7 separate regions of the Homo sapiens genome follow, and regions 1, 2, 3, 4, 6 and 7 are each linked to region 5. Evidence: promoter capture Hi-C in 16 types of primary human blood cells and fetal thymus (Javierre and others, 2016). All regions are on one chromosome and are shown on one strand. Each heading gives the region's core, a stretch centred on a gene start or on the middle of the fragment in contact. The rest is flanking DNA. Distances are from core to core; before and after follow the strand shown.

What was found. Contacts are between HindIII fragments. The CHiCAGO score rates a contact against its expected background, and 5 or more counts as called.
Region 1: a contact is called between a fragment that was not itself captured here and the fragment with the promoter of SLC35G2 in region 5, in 4 of 17 cell types (neutrophils, non-activated CD4 T cells, naive CD8 T cells and 1 more). The highest score is 7.6, in neutrophils.
Region 2: a contact is called between a fragment that was not itself captured here and the fragment with the promoter of SLC35G2 in region 5, in 1 of 17 cell types (neutrophils). The highest score is 6.6, in neutrophils.
Region 3: a fragment that was not itself captured here is called in contact with the fragment with the promoter of SLC35G2 in region 5 in 6 of 17 cell types (total B cells, naive CD8 T cells, total CD4 T cells and 3 more); the score reaches 6.7 in total B cells.
Region 4: a fragment that was not itself captured here is called in contact with the fragment with the promoter of SLC35G2 in region 5 in 2 of 17 cell types (fetal thymus and neutrophils); the score reaches 7.2 in fetal thymus.
Region 6: a fragment that was not itself captured here is called in contact with the fragment with the promoter of SLC35G2 in region 5 in 16 of 17 cell types (fetal thymus, neutrophils, naive CD8 T cells and 13 more); the score reaches 17.0 in fetal thymus.
Region 7: a contact is called between a fragment that was not itself captured here and the fragment with the promoter of SLC35G2 in region 5, in 5 of 17 cell types (fetal thymus, total CD4 T cells, naive B cells and 2 more). The highest score is 8.9, in fetal thymus.

Annotation. Positions count from the first base shown.
Region 1 is chr3:136,045,200-136,047,899 of GRCh38, reverse strand. The region is part of intron 4 of PPP2R3A (protein phosphatase 2 regulatory subunit B''alpha); the gene reads right to left. Among named protein-coding and RNA genes, the nearest start is that of PPP2R3A, 81 kb to the right of the region's middle. The HindIII fragment of the contact is 9,390 bases long and covers 1-2,700 here.
Region 2 is chr3:136,191,604-136,194,303 of GRCh38, reverse strand. All of the region lies in intron 1 of MSL2 (MSL complex subunit 2), which reads left to right. Among named protein-coding and RNA genes, the nearest start is that of MSL2, 3.4 kb to the left of the region's middle. The HindIII fragment of the contact is 3,944 bases long and covers 1-2,700 here.
Region 3 is chr3:136,104,993-136,107,692 of GRCh38, reverse strand. PPP2R3A (protein phosphatase 2 regulatory subunit B''alpha) reads right to left here. Exons shown (of 14, transcript NM_002718.5): 13 at 1,371-1,477. Among named protein-coding and RNA genes, the nearest start is that of MSL2, 90 kb to the left of the region's middle. The HindIII fragment of the contact is 4,479 bases long and covers 1-2,700 here.
Region 4 is chr3:136,173,901-136,176,600 of GRCh38, reverse strand. The region is part of intron 1 of MSL2 (MSL complex subunit 2); the gene reads left to right. Among named protein-coding and RNA genes, the nearest start is that of MSL2, 21 kb to the left of the region's middle. The HindIII fragment of the contact is 2,920 bases long and covers 1-2,700 here.
Region 5 is chr3:136,817,754-136,820,453 of GRCh38, reverse strand. SLC35G2 (solute carrier family 35 member G2) reads right to left here and starts at 1,328. Exons shown (of 2, transcript NM_025246.3): 1 at 826-1,328. RefSeq lists silencers at 131-180, 1,244-1,303. The HindIII fragment of the contact is 16,057 bases long and covers 1-2,700 here.
Region 6 is chr3:136,081,448-136,084,205 of GRCh38, reverse strand. It overlaps PPP2R3A (protein phosphatase 2 regulatory subunit B''alpha), which reads right to left. Exons shown (of 14, transcript NM_002718.5): 8 at 1,785-1,941. Among named protein-coding and RNA genes, the nearest start is that of MSL2, 110 kb to the left of the region's middle. The HindIII fragment of the contact is 7,708 bases long and covers 1-2,758 here.
Region 7 is chr3:136,141,252-136,144,110 of GRCh38, reverse strand. All of the region lies in intron 13 of PPP2R3A (protein phosphatase 2 regulatory subunit B''alpha), which reads right to left. Among named protein-coding and RNA genes, the nearest start is that of MSL2, 54 kb to the left of the region's middle. The HindIII fragment of the contact is 1,019 bases long and covers 956-1,974 here.

The DNA.
Region 1 (2,700 bases), core at 166-2,665, 770 kb after region 5:
GGAGTCTCGCTCTGTTGCCTACGCTGGAGTGCAGTGGCGCAATCTCAGCTCACTGCAAGCTCTGCCTTCTGGGTTCACGCCATTCTCCTGCCTCAGCCTCCCAAGTAGCTGGGACTACAGGCACCCGCCACCACACCTGCCTAAATTTTTTTTTGTATTTTTAGTAGAGACGGGGTTTCACTGTGTTAGCCAGGATGGTATCGATCTCCTGACCTCGTGATCCACTCACCTCGGCCTCCGAAAGTGCTGGGATTACAGGCGTGAGCCACCACGCCCGGCCTGTTCTCATCTTTATGTCCATGTGTACTTGATGTTTAGCTCCCACTTACAAGTGAGAACATATGGTATTTGGTTTTCTGTTTCTGCGAATTTGCTTAGGATAATGGTCTCCAGCTGCATCCATGTTGCTACAAAGAACAAGACTTCATTCTTTTTTACGGCTGCTTAGTAGTCCATGGTGTACCTGTACCACATTTTCTTTATCCAGTCCACCATTGATGGGCATGTATGTTGATTCCATGTCTTTGCAATTGTGAACAGTGCTTCATTGAACATATGGGTGCATAAGTCTTTTTGGCAGAATGACTTATTTTTCTTTGGGTATATACCCAGTAATAGAACTACTGGATTGAAATGTAAACTCTGTTCTTTGAGAAATCTCCAAACTGCTCCATGGAGTTCAGCCATGTCCACCTCTTTAGTGAGACTGGGGAAATTTCCGTGGACTATATCCTCATACGTTTTCCAAGTTGCGTACTCTCGCTCCTTCTCTCTCAGGAATGCCAATGAGTTATAGGTTTGGTCTCTTTACATAATCCCATATTTCTGAGAGTTTTCATTTTTTAAAATTCTTTTTTATTTTTGTCTGCCTGCATTGATTCAAAGGAGTGGTCTTTGAGCTCTGAGACTCTTTCCTCAGATTGATCTGTTGTTATTAATGCTTCTAGTTGTATTATGGAATTCCCGTAGTAAATTTTTCAATTCTAGAAGTTCAGTTTGGTTCTTTCTTAAAATGGCTGTGTCATCTTTCAACTCTTGGATCATTTTACTGTTTTCCCTGGATTGAGTTTCAACTTTCTCCTGTATTTCATTGAGCTTTCTTACCATCCAGATTCTGAATTCTGTCATTTCAGCTGCTTTAATTTGATTAACAACCATTGCTGGGGAGCTAGTGAGATCATTTGGAGGTAAGAACACACTCTGGGTTTTAGAATTGTCAGAGTTCTTGTGCTGGTTCCTTCTCATCTGTGAGGGCAGGTGTTCCTTTATCTTTTGATGTTGCTGTCCTTTGTCCTTTGGATGGAGCTTTTTTGTTTTTACTTTATTTCCCTTGAGGGTTTGACTGTGGTGCAAGCTGAGTATAGCCAATTGGCTTTATTTCTGCATGCTTTCAGAGGGCCAAGGCTCTGTATGGAATCTCTTCTGGATTTCTTTTTTTTTTTTTTGAGATGGAGTTTCACTCTTGTTGCCTAGGCTGGAGTGCAACAGCGCAACCTCGGCTCACTGCAACCTCTGCCTCCCAGGTTCAAATGATTCTCCCGCTTCAGCCTCCGGAGTAGCTGGGATTATAGGTGCCCATCACTATGCCCGGCTAATTTTTTGTATTTTTAGTAGAGATGGGGTTTCACCATGTTGGCCAGGCTGGTCTCAAACTCCTGACCCTCAGGTGATCCACCTGCCTCGGCCTCCCAACGTGCTGGGATTACAGTTTTCTGTCTTTCTTGAGACAAAGCCTGGCTCTGTCACCAAGGCTGGAGTACAATGGCGTGAACACAGCTCACTGCAGCCTCAACCTTCTGGGCTCAAGTGATCCTCCTGCCTCAGCCTCCCAAGCAGCTGGAACCACAGGTTCATACCATCATGCCTGGCTAATTTTTTTGTAGAGACAGAGTCTTGCCATGTTACCTAGGCTGGTCTTGAACTCCTAGGCTCATGCAATCTTACTGCCTCGGCCTCCCAAAGTGCTGGGATTACAGGTATGAGTCACTGTGCCTGGCCTGTATGGGATCTTTATTTGTGGCCAGAATCCTGTACTGGGTTTTCTCAGGCAATTCATGCTGGAATTTTTTGGTGCTGTAATTCAAGCTGTAACCTGGGAGATGGCATTTAATAGTAAGGGCTACCAGGTAGACTGCAGGTTAGGGGTATGTCTGTGGGTGGTCTGTTCATGCAGTAGGTCAAGGGTGAGGGATCCCTGGGTAGGGTGATGCTGCCTTGGCCGTGCAGCTGGTGTGGTGCCCACAGCCTAGGTTTTTTTGGCCAGCAGATAGCAGTGAGAACTTCCCAGCTTGTGCTTCCTTGACAGGTCTCCTGGTTACTGCCCAGAATTTGGCCCAACCAGCTAGTTTGTCACAAGACTTCTGCACCCAGATCACTGGGCTATTAGGTGTTCCAGACTGCCAGGCTCCCTTGGGTAGAGGTTGTGGCCCAGTTCCTGTGCCAGCCCATTAATCCATACCTCACTTTTCCCAGTGCTCTGAGAGTAAGGGCTCTTCCGCCACTTGAGTTCCAACCACAAGTCTCAGCTTGGCACTCCTGGACTGTGTGCTCTAACCCTGGGGGCCTGGGACCAGGCCTGTAGCTTAGTTCTCTGGCTCCCTGAGGTCGAGCACCAGCTGTGCTGGGTGAGCCAAGGTGCTCCCAGGCCACCAGTAAAAGCGCTCCACTGGGGGCCACTGGCAAAAGCGCTCTCGCAGGGGA
Region 2 (2,700 bases), core at 157-2,656, 630 kb after region 5:
TAACTCGTGGTGGGTAGGATACTTTAATTTTTAAGATAGAAGAGATATGCTAAATTGTCTAAGGAAAATATCTCAAAAGTGATAATTTGAATGTTAACTGTGCGTGTGTAATAATTACTTGCTTTTCGAAAAACCTGGACTGAAACGTTAATACAAAAGAAAGGGCAACTGCCAAAGCAGTAATATGCATGCTCCACTTAATATTCTATCCTAAATTTTGAAGTTTTGATGATCCACTTGTTTAGTCAGAACCTGGGAAATTCAGGCACGTTAAGGTTTCCACTTTATTTAAAAGTAGATAAAGGAAGAAGAGTAATTTGGGACAGTTGTGGCTGAAGGGAGAAATAATATTCATTTGAGGTTTATCCAGCATTCTCTATCTAGATCCTGAAGCAAGACACTGAATGGGTGCAGAAGAGGTGGCGGTGGTGTTTTTTGCAAGACAGGTACTTAAGGTCATAAACATTTAAGTAACTGAGTAAGTCATTAAGTGCTACTCTGACTGGTGACAGACACTTAACACCTTAGAGGAATAGTCGCCCAGGGCAAATCACCTAACTGCCCTGGGCCTCAGTTTCTTGATGTGTAAAATGATAATTTTCGGCTAGATTCAGTTTCCTTTCAGCTTAAGTTTTACAAATGTAAGTGTATCAAGAGTTTGCCTGGTTTCATGGTAACCTCTCACTCTACTCCCACTTTTATGGAGTGCTTTTTTTTTTTAATGTCCTCACATATTTTGATGGTTTGAGGACTGAGGAAATGGAGCTGCCATAACTTCCTTCTCCATATACTTTTTTTTTTCTTTTCCTTTGGTGCCGGCCGTAGGGTGCTACTATGGTGAGGTAGGGGGAAGAGGAAGGGCCCACTCTGTCCTGCTGAAACAGCATTTGAGAGTGATGTCATTATCAGTTAACATTTGTAGAATCTGGTAGGTCCCCTGTTTACTAGATGGGTGAAACTTAGCTCTCTAATTTAAGTGGGAAATGGTAGTTTTGAGTTGTGCAGACCACCACTATCCTAAAACTGTTAAGAACCTCAGAGGTTTTAAGTTCCTATTAATAGCTTTCGGATGGTAGTGGTGGTCTAATTGAACATTTTCCCAAGTTCTAACCTGGACTTTAAATAATGGAATTAAAGATAAAAAAAACCCACTACATTTAAAAGTCCAACTGGAGCCTTTTTTATTTTTATTTTTTGTCAGTCTTGGCAACACAAGGGGAATTTTTCTGACAGGGCTTTCTTATTTCACATCATCCTATGGAAAAGATCGTGAGTTCTGCTTCTCCCTTATGATTGAGTAGCTGGCATGGTTTCAGTAATAGGGATGTAGGTTCAGGTTTTTTTCCTCCCATCTCTTTGGACGTAAGTCTATGATTATAAAGACATAGAAAAAAAATCAGTTATTTGAATTCAGCCCAGCATTGACATATTTTTGTACCAGGTATGTACTAGACTTTTTTCCTTAGCTGAAAAGCATTAGTGCATTCAAATTCGTGGATGGGCAGTCTTATTTCATGAAGATAATGCATTTGTAAAAATGAAGTTTAATTCTGTTGTAATGCTTAATTAGGGAATTTGTTTCAACACGTCCTGTAGATTTGACCCGCTACTACCTTTTCATCCTTTTATTCAACTGTGGTTTTACATAATTCTCTTTTAACTGGATTGATATTTTTGTCCTTTCAAACATGCTTTTTTATATCTTTTTCTTTTTTTTTTTATCTTTGCTTTCTTAATTTTCTTCTGCCTAAAACACTACTTTTTTCTAAAGGCCTAACTCAACTCCCTGCCTCCTTGGTGAAGTCTTCCTTGCTCACTGCAGCAAAAAGTTACTTCTGGCCAGGTGCCTGTAATCCCAGCACTTTGGGAGGCCAAGGTGGGCGGATCGCTTGAGGTCAGGAGTTGGAGACCAGCCTGGCCAACATAGTGAAACCCCATCTCTACTAAAAATACACAAATTAGCTGGGTGTGGTGGCAGGTGCCTGTAATCCCAGTTACTCAGGAGGCTGAGGCCGATCTCCAGACATTGCTTGAACCTGGGAGGCAGAGGTTGCAGTGAGCCGAGATCGCACCACTGCACTCCAGACTGGGCAACAGAGTGAAACTCCGGCTCAAAAAAATAAAAAAGTTATCTTTCTTGTCTAAACCTTCTGTAAACCTTTGTTCCAGTCATAAGATACTTATATCTCCTTTGAGTGCAGATTTTGTATCAGTCTGATTTTCTTGATACATATAATAAACTTTTTAGGGAAGACATTGTTTTTTCTTTTACAGTTTTGTATTTCTTCTGCTTCACATTCTTTCCTGCCTGGTGACTTACATGTAGGTGTTTATGACAGCCTCAGAGGAAGAGGTGAGGGAGGGAAAAAGCCCTTCAAACTTTGCAATTAGGTTGAAATTTGGCTTTTACTTACTGTGTAGGCACATTGCTTTAACTTTTTGCCAATTGCCTTTATCTTCTTCAAGTTTGTTTCTCTAAATTTGTGTTATGTGTGGGCTTATTTTTAAGCGGTTTGAAAAAACTTTTTATTGAAACAGGATCTTGCTATGTTGCTCAGGTTGGAGTGCAGTGGTGCGATCCTAGCTCACTGCAGCCTTAAACTCCTGGATTCATGCAGTCCTTCCACCTCAGCCTCCTAATTAGCTAGAACTACAGGCATGTACCATCATGCCCAGCTAAAGTTTTTGTAGGGAGAGGGT
Region 3 (2,700 bases), core at 131-2,630, 710 kb after region 5:
AATCTCTCAGTGAAAGAAAGCTCTTTGCTGATGGCTTGTTCAGCACCCTCAAAAAAGATAATATTTAATGAATGGTAGAGGTATAAAATGGTACAATCTATATTGAGGACTATTTGACTTTATCTATGGGGCTGGATAGTTTCTGTTTATCCCTCTAGACCTGCTCTTCCTCTATCTCTATGCCTCAGGAGGCTGACCTGAATGGACCACATCAGAGACCACATTTGAGACTGTCTCAAAAAAAAAAAAAAAAAAAAAAAAGAATTCATGTATCTTTCTAAATATACATAGATAGGTGGAGAGAGAGGCTCTTTGGAAGAGTAAGCAAGAACATGATGACACTTGTTGCTTCTGGGGAGGAGAAGTGGGTAGTAGGAAACTTTTTACTATTTCTTTTGTTTCTTTGAATATTATATGAATAGTGCCTGTTCAAAAAGTACACTACATTAATGAGAAAGATTAATTGAGGCCTTTACAGAAGCTATGACTAAGGAAGAATTAGAAGAATTACAAAAGGAGTTACTAGAAGATGATGGAAAAAACCAGCAAATTATAAAGTTGCTGAAGTGATCCAAGGAGTCAAATTCTTGGATAATTAAATTTCTTAACATGGTCCCTTTATGGAATTATGCCCTGACTAGTAGAAATACATGTAGAAGTTACTTCCTGCACAAAACCATGTATAATAAAGATTTGTTCTAAACATGATCATCTTTATTATTATTGAAGGAGCTTTAGTTTTTTTTTTTTTTTTTTTTTTTTTTTTGGAGACGGAGTTTTGCTCTTGTTGCCCAAGCTGGAGTGCAATGGCATGATCTCGGCTCACTGCAACCTCTGCCTCCCGGGTAAAAGCCGATTCTCCTGCCTCAGCCTTCCAAGTAGCTGGGATTACAGGCATGCACCACCATACCCGGCTAATTTTTTTGTATTTTTAGTGGAGACAGGGTTTCTCCATGTTGGTCAGGCTGGTTTCAAACTCCCGACCTCTGGTTATCCACCCGCCTCGGCCTCCCAAAGTGCTGAGATTACAGGCGTGAGCCACCGTGCCCGGCCAGAGCTTTAGTTCTTTTAGCCTCCTCCTTTATGTACAGGGTTTATCAATATCACTAAAACAGTAGTTTGATTGTTCAGTGATCTCGGTTTCCAGTGAAAGATGAGACTCATTAAAGGAAATGGACATGAGAAGACTCTGTCAGGAAATGAGTGAAGATTGCTGGAAAAAATAATCATTTAACTAAAGTTGGCTAAATCACATTTTTATGCTATTCAAAAATGGAAAAAACAGAAAAGGATTTTGTAAGGGGGTTTTAATACTCTGGACATGCGCATTCCTGTTAAAAATTCTATAAGACATAGGGAAACTTACTCACCCTTCCTGGAATTGTGCTTGGGCAGATTCCTCTGCAACAAGCGTCTCATACTCCTCAGCGGCAAACCGGTCCCAGTCTGAGGGCTCAGGCCCATCGTTCTCAACATCCTGATTGGAAAGAAGACAGCCACGAGAAATAAAAAAAATCAAAGACAAAGAATTGGAGATAGATCATCACACAAATGTATACTGCTGAAAAAATCCTACCTGAAAAATGTTTCATTTCAACAGGTTTAAAAGAGGTGCTAAGGTAAAACTCCTAAGGTAATTTTCTACACCTCAAATGGCAAAATTATAACTGTTTAGCAGCCAGGTTTTTTAGGTATAGATTCCATTTTTTTCTTTTTTCTTTTTTTTTCTTTTTGAGATAGAATCTCACTCTGTCACCCAGGCTGGAGTATAGTGGCACGATCTCGGCTCACTGCAGCCTCTGCCTCCTGGGTTCAAGCAATTCTCCTGCCTCAGCCTCCCAAGTAGCTGGGACTACAGGCAAGTACCACCACGTCCAGCTAATTTTTGTATTTTGTAGAGACAGGGTTTCGCCATGTTGGCCAGGCTGGTCTCGAACTCCTGACCTCAGGTGATCTGCCCGCCTCAGCGTCCCAAAGTGCTGGGATTACAGGTGTGAGCCACCGTGGCTGGCTGATTCCAACTCTTTTTTTTAAAAGAGATAGGGTCTCACTCTGTTGCCTAGTCTGGAGTGCAGTGGTGCACCAATAGCTTACTGCTAACCTCAGAATCTGGGCTCAAGTGATTCTCCTGCCTCAGCCTACTGAGTAGCTGAGACTACAGGCATTCCACCTACTAAGTAGTTGAGAATGCAGGCATACCACCATGCCCTGCTAATTTTAAAATTTTTTTGTAGACACAGGGGCTCACTATGTTGCCCAGGCTGGTCTTGAACCCCTGGCCTCAAGTGATCCTCCCGTCTTAGCTTCCTAAGTAGCTGGGATTACAAGCACAAGCCATAGCACCTGGTAAGTCTACTCTTTAGCCTTGTAATCAGAGACATTTCTCTGGTCCCCTCTCCTCTGGCACTTTGCACAGCAGCCACCTGGAGTGACTTGTGGTTTGCCACAGGCCCGCCTGAAATGTACCTTCCCCAAGCCCCCATTCGCTGGCAAATTTTTGTTCTTTAAAAGCCAACTCAGATACCACGCTGTCTGTGATAGCTTCCTGGAAACAGCCCTTCTCTCCATATCACTTCCTTTTTCCTAATGTAGATACTTTGGTTGCCACCTTTTGTTCTTGTATCTCTGCCATCTCCATATATCCAGTATCTCTTCAACACAGTGCCCAGAATTTATTAAGCACTGACTAATAATGTTCTT
Region 4 (2,700 bases), core at 34-2,533, 640 kb after region 5:
CTCCTGCCTCAGCCTCCCAATGCTGAGATGATAGGCATGAACCACTGTGCCCAGCCGAAAAGTTTTTTTTTTTTTTTTTTTTTTTGAGAGAGGGTCTCATTCTGGTTGCCCAGGCTGGAGTGCAGTGACACGATCTTGGCTCAATACAGCTTCAACCTCCTGGGCTTAGGTGATTGTTCCACCTCACCCTCCCGAGTAGCTGGGATTGCAGGTGCATGCCCCCATGTCCTGCTAATTTTTTGTATTTTTAGTAGAGACGGGGTTTTGCTGTGTTGCCCAGGCTGGTCTTGAACTCCTGGACTCAAGCAATCCACCTGCCGTGGCTTCCCATAGTGCTGGGATTACAGGCATGAGCCACCACACCCAGCCGGCCACTGAAAAGTTTTAAAAGAAGTTTAGACTTTAAAATATGCCTGCACACAACTATATTGGGCAAAGAATATAGTTTTACTTGTCCAAGAACTGTTGATTAATTTGCACCAATTTGGAAATGATAAATACTAACTTTTTATGGTATAGTCGTTTTTGTTTGGCTGAATCCAGAGATTATTTCCTTGTATATGTATCTAGAATATGTCCTACTAGTTATTGTTTGGAAACATACTCGACATCTTTAATTTTGGAGTTTAATTTTGGTGCTATAATTCAGAGATTTAAAAAAGGTTTGAGAATGCCTTGCTAAGTGATGGCAGGCTTAGCACAGTGGCAGGCTTAGCACAGTGTTTGGCATATAGCTGGGTCCCAGGAATTATTTACATATGTAATGGAGGAAGGAGAAATGTTTTATTCAATGAACATAGGCTAAACAATTCACTCTTCATTTGGAAAAGGTGAAAAATGGGGAAATTTAGATAAATTGATTATGAAACGGTTATTGTTCCGGCCCTATCTCAGACTTGTTGTTGTTGTTGTTTTTTGAGATGGGGCCTCTGTCACGCAGGCTAGGGTGCAGTGATCCGATCATGGCTCACTTGCAGCCTCGAACTCCTGGACTCTAATGATCCTCCCACTTCAGCCTCCTTAGTAGCTGGGACCACAGGCATGTGCCACCATGTCTGGCTAATTTTGTTTATTTTTCGTAGAGGCAGGGTTTCACTATGCTGCTTAGGCTGGTCTCGAACTCCTGGGCTTGAGTGATCCTCCTGCCCCAGCCTCCCAAAATGCTGGTATTGTAAGTGTGAGCCACTGCACCTGGCCTATCTCAGACTTTTGACATCAGTGAGAGAAGTGTATTCTCCCACTTTTTTTTTTTTTTTTGAGACGGAGTCTTGCTCTGTCGCCCAGGCTGGAGTGCAGTGGCGCGATCTCGGCTCACTGCAACCTCCGCCTCCTGGGTTGAAGTGATTCTCCTGCCTCAGCCTCCTGAATAGCTGAGATTACAGGTGTGCGCCACCACGTCTGGCTACTTTTTGTATTTTTAGTAGAGATGGGGTTTCACCATGTTGGTCAGGCTGGTATCGAACTCCTGACCTCGTGATCCACCTGCCTCGGCCTCCCAAAGTGCTGGGATTATAGGCGTGAGCCACCATGCCCAGCCATGACTCAAATTCAGCATAGTTACTCTCATACCACAAGAGAAATAGAGTGTACGTGTTTATTTGGGTTGATCAGCATCGGTTTATTGCTATTACATTCCCAGAAAATTTTATAAATGAATGAAAACCAGCTTAGTCTAATCATGAGTTTAGTATATATGTATTTACTTATTTTAAACATATATATTACACATGAATACATTATGCATACACATTTAATATACATATACATATTAAGGTTTCTGATGCTGTAAATTTTAGACTGGTATATAGGCCGATCTTTGTTTTTTGTTGGAATCTCTTTTACACAGAAGATGGTACAAATGCTTTATAGCATATATGTCCACTTGAAGCATTTAAGGCTAACTTTAAAAATTGAAGTTAGTGTGTAGAGAATTTAGGCAGGGCTCTTGCTGGTCCAGTTTTTGTGCAGTAAGGATTTCCTGACCCTCACAAACCTGTTATTGAGAATCCATCCTCCCCTTCCTTTTGCTCTTCCTGCCTCAGTCACTATCCATTATTGCCAGTACCTGTTCCTATTTCTTCTTTCCAATAAAAGGTTGTATATCTTGTGGCTAATTATTCTGCCTATTGCTCAGTTTCTGTAATCATTTTTGGGAAGGGGCAAGAAGCTAAAATTGTCTCTGTGTATGCCATGGACTGTTTTAATAGAAGTACAGATAGTGCTGGATAAGTGAAAATAATTCTAGGCTGGGAATCAGTAGACTGAGCCTCTATTTTTCATTGCTAGTACCCAGTTATGTAATCCATGAAAGTCCATCTTGGTTAAAATGAGGTCACAGAACAAGTGATTACCAAGGTCACTCCCAGATTTAATGTTCTTTTTATGATTAATTCATTTTACATTTATTAGGTGCTGGCTTATGTGCCAACACTAGTTTAAAGATTTAGAGATAAATAAGTTTCTGGCCTTGAGTGAGACCCAGTGAACAATGACAATATAATGTGATTAAGTGCTGTAATAGGAGAATGTGTAAAGTGCTTTTTCAACAGATTGAGGGAGGTTAATTAAGAAAGGCTTCCTCTTGGAGGTCATATTTGAATTGATTTTTGAAGAAGAATTGACCATGCAAGGCAGGAAGAAGGACATTCTAGGAACAGCAAATCATGGAGGATGAGTAAGCATTGCATGTTTTGGAATGGT
Region 5 (2,700 bases), core at 79-2,578:
TGAAAAGAGTTTCAGTGTTGGGCCTGCTCCACTCTGGCCACCAGCCATGGAGATGGGCTATTTTTGGCAAAGGTGCAGAGTAGAAGGGCAACGCAGGCCGCGGCCCAGGAAGTCAGTCGACGAGGGCGCGCGAGGCACTTCAGCACCACGGACATAGGCAAGCCTGAGCCAAGTCCTTTCCCGCGGAGGAAGATCGCTCCTCCGGAGCTACCCCCAGCCCTCTGGACCTACCCCCAGCCCTCTGGACCCACCCCCAGCACTCTGGACGTGGGGGGTTACTATCTCCAGGTCCTCGATCAACACTCGGACCCGAGCTTTCCGCCTCGCTCCTCGCGGAGCCGGGTGAAAGAAAACCTGGCCCGAGATGCAGGTCCGCGCTGAGCCTTCATCCGCCGCAACACGAGTCTCTTTCCTGCCGGCCCGCGCGACCCTTCTTCCCTCTCCTCCTCTCAAATGAGGCCAAATGGGTGCACGTGGCGTAGAAATTCTACAGCGCCCAGAGCACTGTGAGGAAAGATTCGCCTTTTCCTCCCCGTGGCTGCTGGAGGCTGTGCGGACTTGCCCTGAGCCTTCTCCGCCACTCTCGGCCGTGACGAGGCCCTTCCTCCACTAACCCTTGCCCTCGTCTTCCCTTGGGAAAAGATGTCTACAAACCGTCGATGTACCACGAAAATCTCAGCGCCCACAGACTGGCGTTCAAGAGTCATGGACATGAGACAAGAGAGTAATGGAAAATACAAATTCTTGGCCATATTTCTAAAATCATCCAGCCTTTTTTAAAACTTGTATTTGAAATTGATCCCATATGACGCCACAGTGACTCACCCCTTGCTTGGGTTGGCTACTGGGCGAGAGGAAAGCAACAGCCCCTGGCCTTCATCATGGACGCTGCAGGAGGGCCCAGACACGCGACAGCGGAAAGAAACGGGAAACCGGGCCGTAGCCGATGCTGGCCCTCCCGTCCCCGTGTCCCGGTTCTCCAGGAGGGCAGCACAGAGAAATGCGGGCCCCGCGGCCTTTCAGGCGTCGTGCAGAGCACCCCGAAGTCTGCAAAGCGGGCGGGGCGCGTCGCCCCCAGCCCGGCCCTTACCCAAAAAGACTGTTGTGCCCCTTAGGTGTGGCGGCTAAACGCGGGTGTGTGGAGTTCGGGGTCCGCTCTCATTCCCTTGTCGGGCGGCCGGGCAGGCAGGATCAAGGTCCCAGTCCGCCGCCGCCGACCGGCTCCCGGGGCCCGGTTACCTGCGTGTCGTGGCGAGGAAGGTGCCCCGGAGGCGACTGACGCGGGCGTGCCCTCGCCTGGGAAAATCGAGGCGGGCGCTGCCCGGAGTACTGCGGAGGGAGAGGGGCGCCGCCGCGCGGACTCTGCGCCTGCGCTCTCCGCCCTCCGCCGCCCCCACCCCACAACCTGACTGGCGCCGGAGTTGGAGACTGCGGGGGACGCTCAGGGTTGTGCCTGAACTGAAGGACTTCCTCTACCCGCGAGGTGGGAGGGTCCACGGGAAAGCGCCCGCCCGGGCCCCTCTAGCTTACGCCCTTGGAGGGCGCTTGTTTGAAGCAATTGCCTGTCTGCCAGGGCTACGTAGTCCGCTGCAAGTGGGCACGGAGGCAGTTTCTGTCCATTTCCACCCATTGTTTGCGCTTAAAAGTCGCAAGTCTATTCCTTCATGTTTAAATATGTGTCCAGCATCGGAAAATCGTGGTCCGGAAAAGTCTTCGGGCATCCCCGAGTCCACCCGCCATTTTACTGATAAGGTCTCTGAGGGAAGGGTCTTGACACTGCACAGCTGGTTCTTCTACCCAAGTGCATATGCCCCAGTCCCAAGTGGAATGAATATAGCCTCTTGGAAACAGACTGGTCATTAAAAGCAGTGGATTTGATGGGTCCAGGGGACAGGCAAGAAAGGGTAAGGGCTGAACCAAGGTGCTGGCTGTGGGAAAAAACAGGAGGTGCTTGCTGGTTTTTCCTCTGTCCCTTCAGACCCACTCTCCACTCTGCTCTGTGACTCAGGACTGACCTTTATGGGCTACGTCAACTATAATCTGGCTTTCAATTGGTTTTGGCAAGTGGGAGGCACCTGCAGATCAGAAGGCAGGATGTGATTCAGGACCTCCCCTGCATCCCCAGCGGGCCACCCTGTTAGCAGTGGCTATGTTCTTCATCTGAAAGCCATTACTCCCATCCTGTGGCCCTCTCCTGCAGTTTTCTCCAGGTTCTGGTTACCACTAACTACCCTTGCCCCTTCAGGCCTGGAGTGGGTAATGACGCCCAGAGGTTTCCTTTAACCCCATCCACACCTTTTTAAATAGTCCCTTCATTAAACTCTCCTCAACTATCCCATCTTTTCCCCACCTTTCCAGGACGCTATAATAGATTTTAGTCCATTGCGGTTGGCAAAATTCATGAGGACAAAAATATATGTAAAAGAAATACGGGGCTTTTAAAAGGCGAGAAGTCTTCCAGAGCCATCTTGACAGTTCCCTGGGCTCCAGGCAGCCAGCATGCTAGGTGGTCTCCCCACTGGGCCCCATAGCCCGAGGGTGCTAGTTTAGGTAGACCCAAGAATGGAATTCAGACTGCTCATAAACAGTGTGATCACCAAAGGGCTGGGGATCATTTCAGAGTCCAGCATAACAGGATTTTGGATTCCTCTTGAGGTAGAGAGACAATCTAGATCTTTATAGAGCAAGTGCTGGTGCTCT
Region 6 (2,758 bases), core at 95-2,594, 740 kb after region 5:
GGGGCCCCAGGCCTGGCCCAGAAAACCATTTTTCCCTCCTAGGCCTCCAGGCCTGTGATGGGAGGGGCTGTCATGATGGTCTCTGACATGCCCTGGAGACATTTTCCCCATTGTTTTGGTGATTAGCATTTGACTCCCCATTATTTATGCAAATTTCTGCAGTGGGCTTGAATTTCTCCCCGGAAAATGGGTTTTTATTTTCTACTGCATTATCAGGCAGCAAATTTTCCAAACTTTTATGCACTGTCACTTCTTGAATGCTTTGCTGCTTAGGAATTTCTTCCACCACATACCCCAAATCATCTCTTTCAAGTTCAAAGTTCCACAGATCTCTAGGGCAGGGGCAAAATGCCAAGTCTCTTTGCATAGCAAGAGTGACCTTTACTCCAGTTCCCAACAAGTTCCTCATCTCCACCTGAGATCACTTCAGCCTGGATTTTATTGTCCATATCACTATCAGCATTTTGGTTAAAGCCATTCAAGTCTCTAGGAAGTTCCAAACTTTCCCACATGTTCCTGTCTTTATCTGAGCCCTCCAAACTGTTCCAACCTCTGCCTATTACCTAGTTCCAAAGTCCCTTCCACATTTTCGGGTATCTTTACAGCAGCGCCCCATGCTACTGGTACCAATTTACTATATTAGTCTGTTCTCATGCTGCTAGTAAAGACATACCTGAGACTGGGTAATTTATAATGGGAAGAGTTTAATGGACTCATAGTTCCACATGGCTGAGAAGGCCTCACAATCATGGCGGAAGGCAAAGGAGAAGCAACAGCACATGTTACAGGGTGGCAGGCAAGAGAGCATGTGCAGAGGAACTCCCCTTTATAAAACCATCAGCTCTCATGAGACTTATTCACTATCATGAGAACTACATGGGAAAGACCCACTCCCATGATTCAATTACCTGCCACCAGGTCCCTGCCACAACAGGTGGGGATTATGGGAGCTACAATTCAAGATGAGATTTGGGTGGGAACATAGCCAAACCATACCACCATCTTTACAAAAAAATACAAAAAAATTAGCCAGGTATGGTGGCATGTGCCTGTAGTCCCAGCTACTTAGGGGCTGAGGTGGTAGGATGGCTTGAGCCCAGGAGGTTGAGGTTACAGTGAGCCGTGTTCATGCTTCTGCATTCCAGCCTAGGTGACAAAGTGAGACGCTGTCTCAAAAAAACCAAGGATATTAAATCAGTAGGCAACAGGTTCTAGATTTACCGCTGGCAAAAATGAAGTAAAAAGGGTATTATCATGTGATATGTAATTTTTTGTTTTCTGACAAAAGAAAGCACGCAAAATTCATCTGCAGAGACGTATCTTTCTGGAACAAAATTTCCAAAAGTAAATTTTTGTGAGTCCTTGAAAATAAAACTTGGCAAGTTAAAAACATTATTTTCATGCTTGGCTTTTTACAGAAATATTGTTAAGTGGGAAGGGTTATAAAGGTGTATACATATTCTCTTTCAAACAGATTTAAACAGGTGTGGATCTTATTCAATTCATCATCAGAAAATACACACCAGTATAAAGACTCATCGCTTTATCAAAACTAAGACTGTGATTGGTTACTTACTTCCAAACTCCTTCTCCTACATCTGGCCTTTTATTAATTTAATAAAAAATTATATTATCTTCACTCATCCCCTCTTAAAAATTATTGGCCTGTAAAGAGGACTTGATTAGGTTTAGAATTTAGCAAACGGGAATTTCTCATAATGAGTAGTGATAATTTATATAACTCTTTAAAATGGTTAAGTCTTAGCATCTACAGAATCACTTACCCTGGTCATTGTATCGAGACAGATCGGCCTGGCTGATGTAGAGGTCGTGATCAGTATCTAGTTCCCAGAATTTACAATAAATAACATAGAAATGTTCATAGGAGAAGTAATCTGTAATTTGGTTTATATCTTCCTCTTCTTCCAAAAGTGCTAGGGTCTGAAATTATATGAAAAGAAGAATTTAAACATTATGAAAAAGCAGCTTTGGCCACTGTGCAGAGTCTAGCGAATTTCTGTTTTAAACTGAATTTAAAATTTTTTTCTGGTACCAAATCAGAAACCCTTTAATAGGCAACCTCATCCTACCTTTAATCAACCAATCAATCTATAAGCATTTACTGAGCTCTGTAATATGCTCAGTGAAGGGCTGGATGCTGTGGAGGATGTAAAAGCAGGGGAAGGGAAGTACCATTACCTTGGGGACTATAGTTGGTCAGAGGTCAGAGACTGGCATGAAAAGAACAATTAGATCATAGTCTTAATTATTTGGCCAGAAACAAATACTGTTTTTAATTTTCAAAGTTATGTGAGCAACATTAAGAGGGGTAGGCATCAACATATAGGGTTTCATTTTGTAATAAAATTAAGTTTATATCACAAAGGTTACTCATATATACAATAGTGATGATACATGGTGGCCTGGCATAGGCATGGCAGGTAGAGATGCAGGGCCCTGAGCTGGAAGTAAACCTGGGTCTTCCCTGACTCACTGTACTCCCCTACGGCAAAATCCAGAATCAATGATACTGAACCCACAATTCTGTTGTCAGCCAAATTATTATGTAAGTGGGCAGATAAATAAAGACATATTCAGAAGTGAAAGATTCAGAAAGAAAAATAAAAGCACAAAAGAATGTAAGAAATATAAAAAAATGAAATGGCAGAAATAAAATCAGATATATGAATAGTCACAATAAAGATAAGTGATACATCTCCCTATTAAAATATTTTTTTGATTAAGTATCAAAACCATG
Region 7 (2,859 bases), core at 216-2,715, 680 kb after region 5:
ATGAAATATTTTCTCTTGGAAATGATGTGGCTGCCTGAAATATTGATAAATATTCTGAGGCTATATCTCTGAGCCTCATATGTAGATATGTACATCAGAAAAATGTACATCAGCAATGTCTATTATAGTATTTGACATCACTGGCTTAGCCCTTGCAGGGATCTCCCACAATATTTAAGCAGGAATTTGTGGACATACAGTCCCTTCATCAAAAAGGTACCAATTGGGGCCAATTAGTGAGGGAAAATATGCTGAGGTAGGTATATACAGTAAGTGGCACCTATTCAAGTTCCTAAAACATTGTGTGTGTTTTTTCTTTTGAGATGGAGTCTCGCTGTGTCGCCCAGGCTGGAGTACAGTGGGGCCATCTTGGCTCATTGCAACCTCTGCCTCCCAAGTTCAAGTGATTCTCCTGCCTCAGCCTCCCGAGTAGCTGGGATTTACAGGCATGTGCCACCATGCCCGGGTAATTTTTGTATTTTCAGTAGAGACAGGGTTTCACCATGTTTGCCAGACTGGTCTTGAACTCCTAACCTCAAGTGATCCACCTGTCTCGGCCTCCCAAAATGCTGGGATTACAGGCATGAGCCACTGCGCCCAGTCAACATCTTTTTGTTTTTGAGATGGAGTCTTGCTCTGTTGCCCAGGCTGGAGTGCAGTGGCATGATCTTGGTTCACTGCAACCTCTGCTTTCTGGGTTCAAGCAATTCTCCTGCCTCAGCCTCCCAAGAAGCAGGGATTACGGACGTATATCACCACTCCTGGCTGGTTTTTGTGTTTTCTTAGTAGCAACAGGGTTTCGCCATGTTGGCCAGGCTGGTCTTCAACTCCTGACCTCAGGTGATCCACCCCCATCAGCCTCCCAAAGTGCTGGGATTAAAGGTGTGAGCCACTGCACCCAGCCTAGGCCAACATTTTTGAATAGAGGTTAGAGGTTTAAACCTTTTAAAAAGCTTACTTGATAGAAAATTGTTCCCTATGACTACCAGTTTATGATACTGTCAAAAGTTATAATTTGTTCATTTAATAAAAATATTCCATTCCATTCTTGTTTCCACTCCTCTTCCCCCATCTCCTTGAGGCCTCAATGCGGCATGGGATGTGCTGGATAAGGAGGCAATAGGAGAGGAACTTTCCGCTAATGCAAGTGAAATGGTTGATGGCAGAGCCTCTGTTCTGGGGAACAAAATTCTCAAAACCAATGCTGCTGATTTCTTGTCAGGATGGGAGCATCTTCCCCTTGGTGCCCTAACGTGTTGTCTGTAAGCTATCAGTGTTAAATACCTCAGTGTAGGTCTATGAATAACGCATATTTTCAGAGTTAAGTGTGAAGTGTGACTCATTCAGTAAATATTTGAACTCCTGTTGCTAAGTGTCAGAGCCAAATGCTAGGATTATAATGATGAAAAAGACTGAATCAGCCCTCTCCTCACAGCACTTGAAGCCTAATGGAGACCTTATGGAGTTAGGGGTTAAGTGATTTAGGCTTAGAGCACAGGCTTTGGAGTCAGACTATAAAAGTCAGGTTCCAATCTGGGTTTGATCACTTAATGTGATTTTGGGCATGTTGGTGAGTGACACCTAATCCTATATTGGGGGAGGGATTATACATTTTTGTGTATGTCATTTTTGAATAAAACATTTGCAAAAGGAAGTTCATTCAATAACCCTCCTTTGTCAGCATCCTGGAGACTCCTCTTAATTTTGGTGGTTCTCAACTAGGGTGATTTTGTCCCCCGCCGCCAGGGGACATTTGGGCATGTCTGGAGACATGTCTGTGTCTTGACTGTCACCACTGAGTGGGTCCTACTGGCATCTAGTGGGTAGAGTGCAGGGATGGTGCTAAACATCCTACAATGTGCCGTATGTCTCACAATAAAATTACCCATCTTAGAACTCTTGCTCCTTCAATGCCAGTGCGTCCCAGGTTCTGGACTAATAAGCTCTTCTCGTTTTGTACTTCCCTGGTAAGCTTAGTCTTTCCCATGGCTTTACTCACTGCCTACTCACCTGTGGTTTCCAAACTATGTCCAGCCTCAGCCTCTTTCTAAGCTGGAGAACTCCATATATCCAGCTGCCTACTATATAGATGGCTCTTTCAGAACAGCAGCATGTATAAACTTGAACTCATCTTTCCCACTGCCCTGGTTCTCCCTATTTTAGTCAATGGCACTGTCATCTGCCCACTCAAAGCCAGAAACTCGGTTATCCCAAGTTCCTCTTTCCTCACCTCACTACAGTTGACCATATGGATACAACCCTGCCTCTTCCTCCCTACCACCACTGGCTTAAGTTCAGGGTACCATACTTTCTTGTTTGGATTACACTCTTGCCACATATCCTTTGCTACTGCCATACCAGGCTGTTTATAGTGTTGGAATAGGTTATGGTCTTGGGACCTAATGCCACTGTACATGTTTTTCAATTGCCTGAAATGCCCTTCCCTCTTTGGCTAGCTTGTGTTCATCTTTTAATCTGAGATGTCATGTACAGGTTTTCTGATTATTCACTCCTGAATTAATTAACCACATCTCTGATTCAGATGTATGTAATGGCTTCCTTATTTGTCTCCCTACTTCTGTTCTTGCACTTCCACTAATCTGGCAGAATAATCTTCAGAAAACCTAAGGGGTAGGGATTATATCACTCCCTTGCTTAACAATTTTCAGTGGCTTCCCTAGGCCCTGCATGATCTGGCCCCTGCTAGACTTTGTAACCACATCTCCCTCTGTTGCTCACTATATTCTGGCCATACTAGGCTTTAAAAATCTCCCCAACATGCTGTTTCCTGCCTCAAAATCACTGCACACAGTCACATATTTTACTCCCTGCCTAGGACATTTTTGCTGTTTTTTCTTT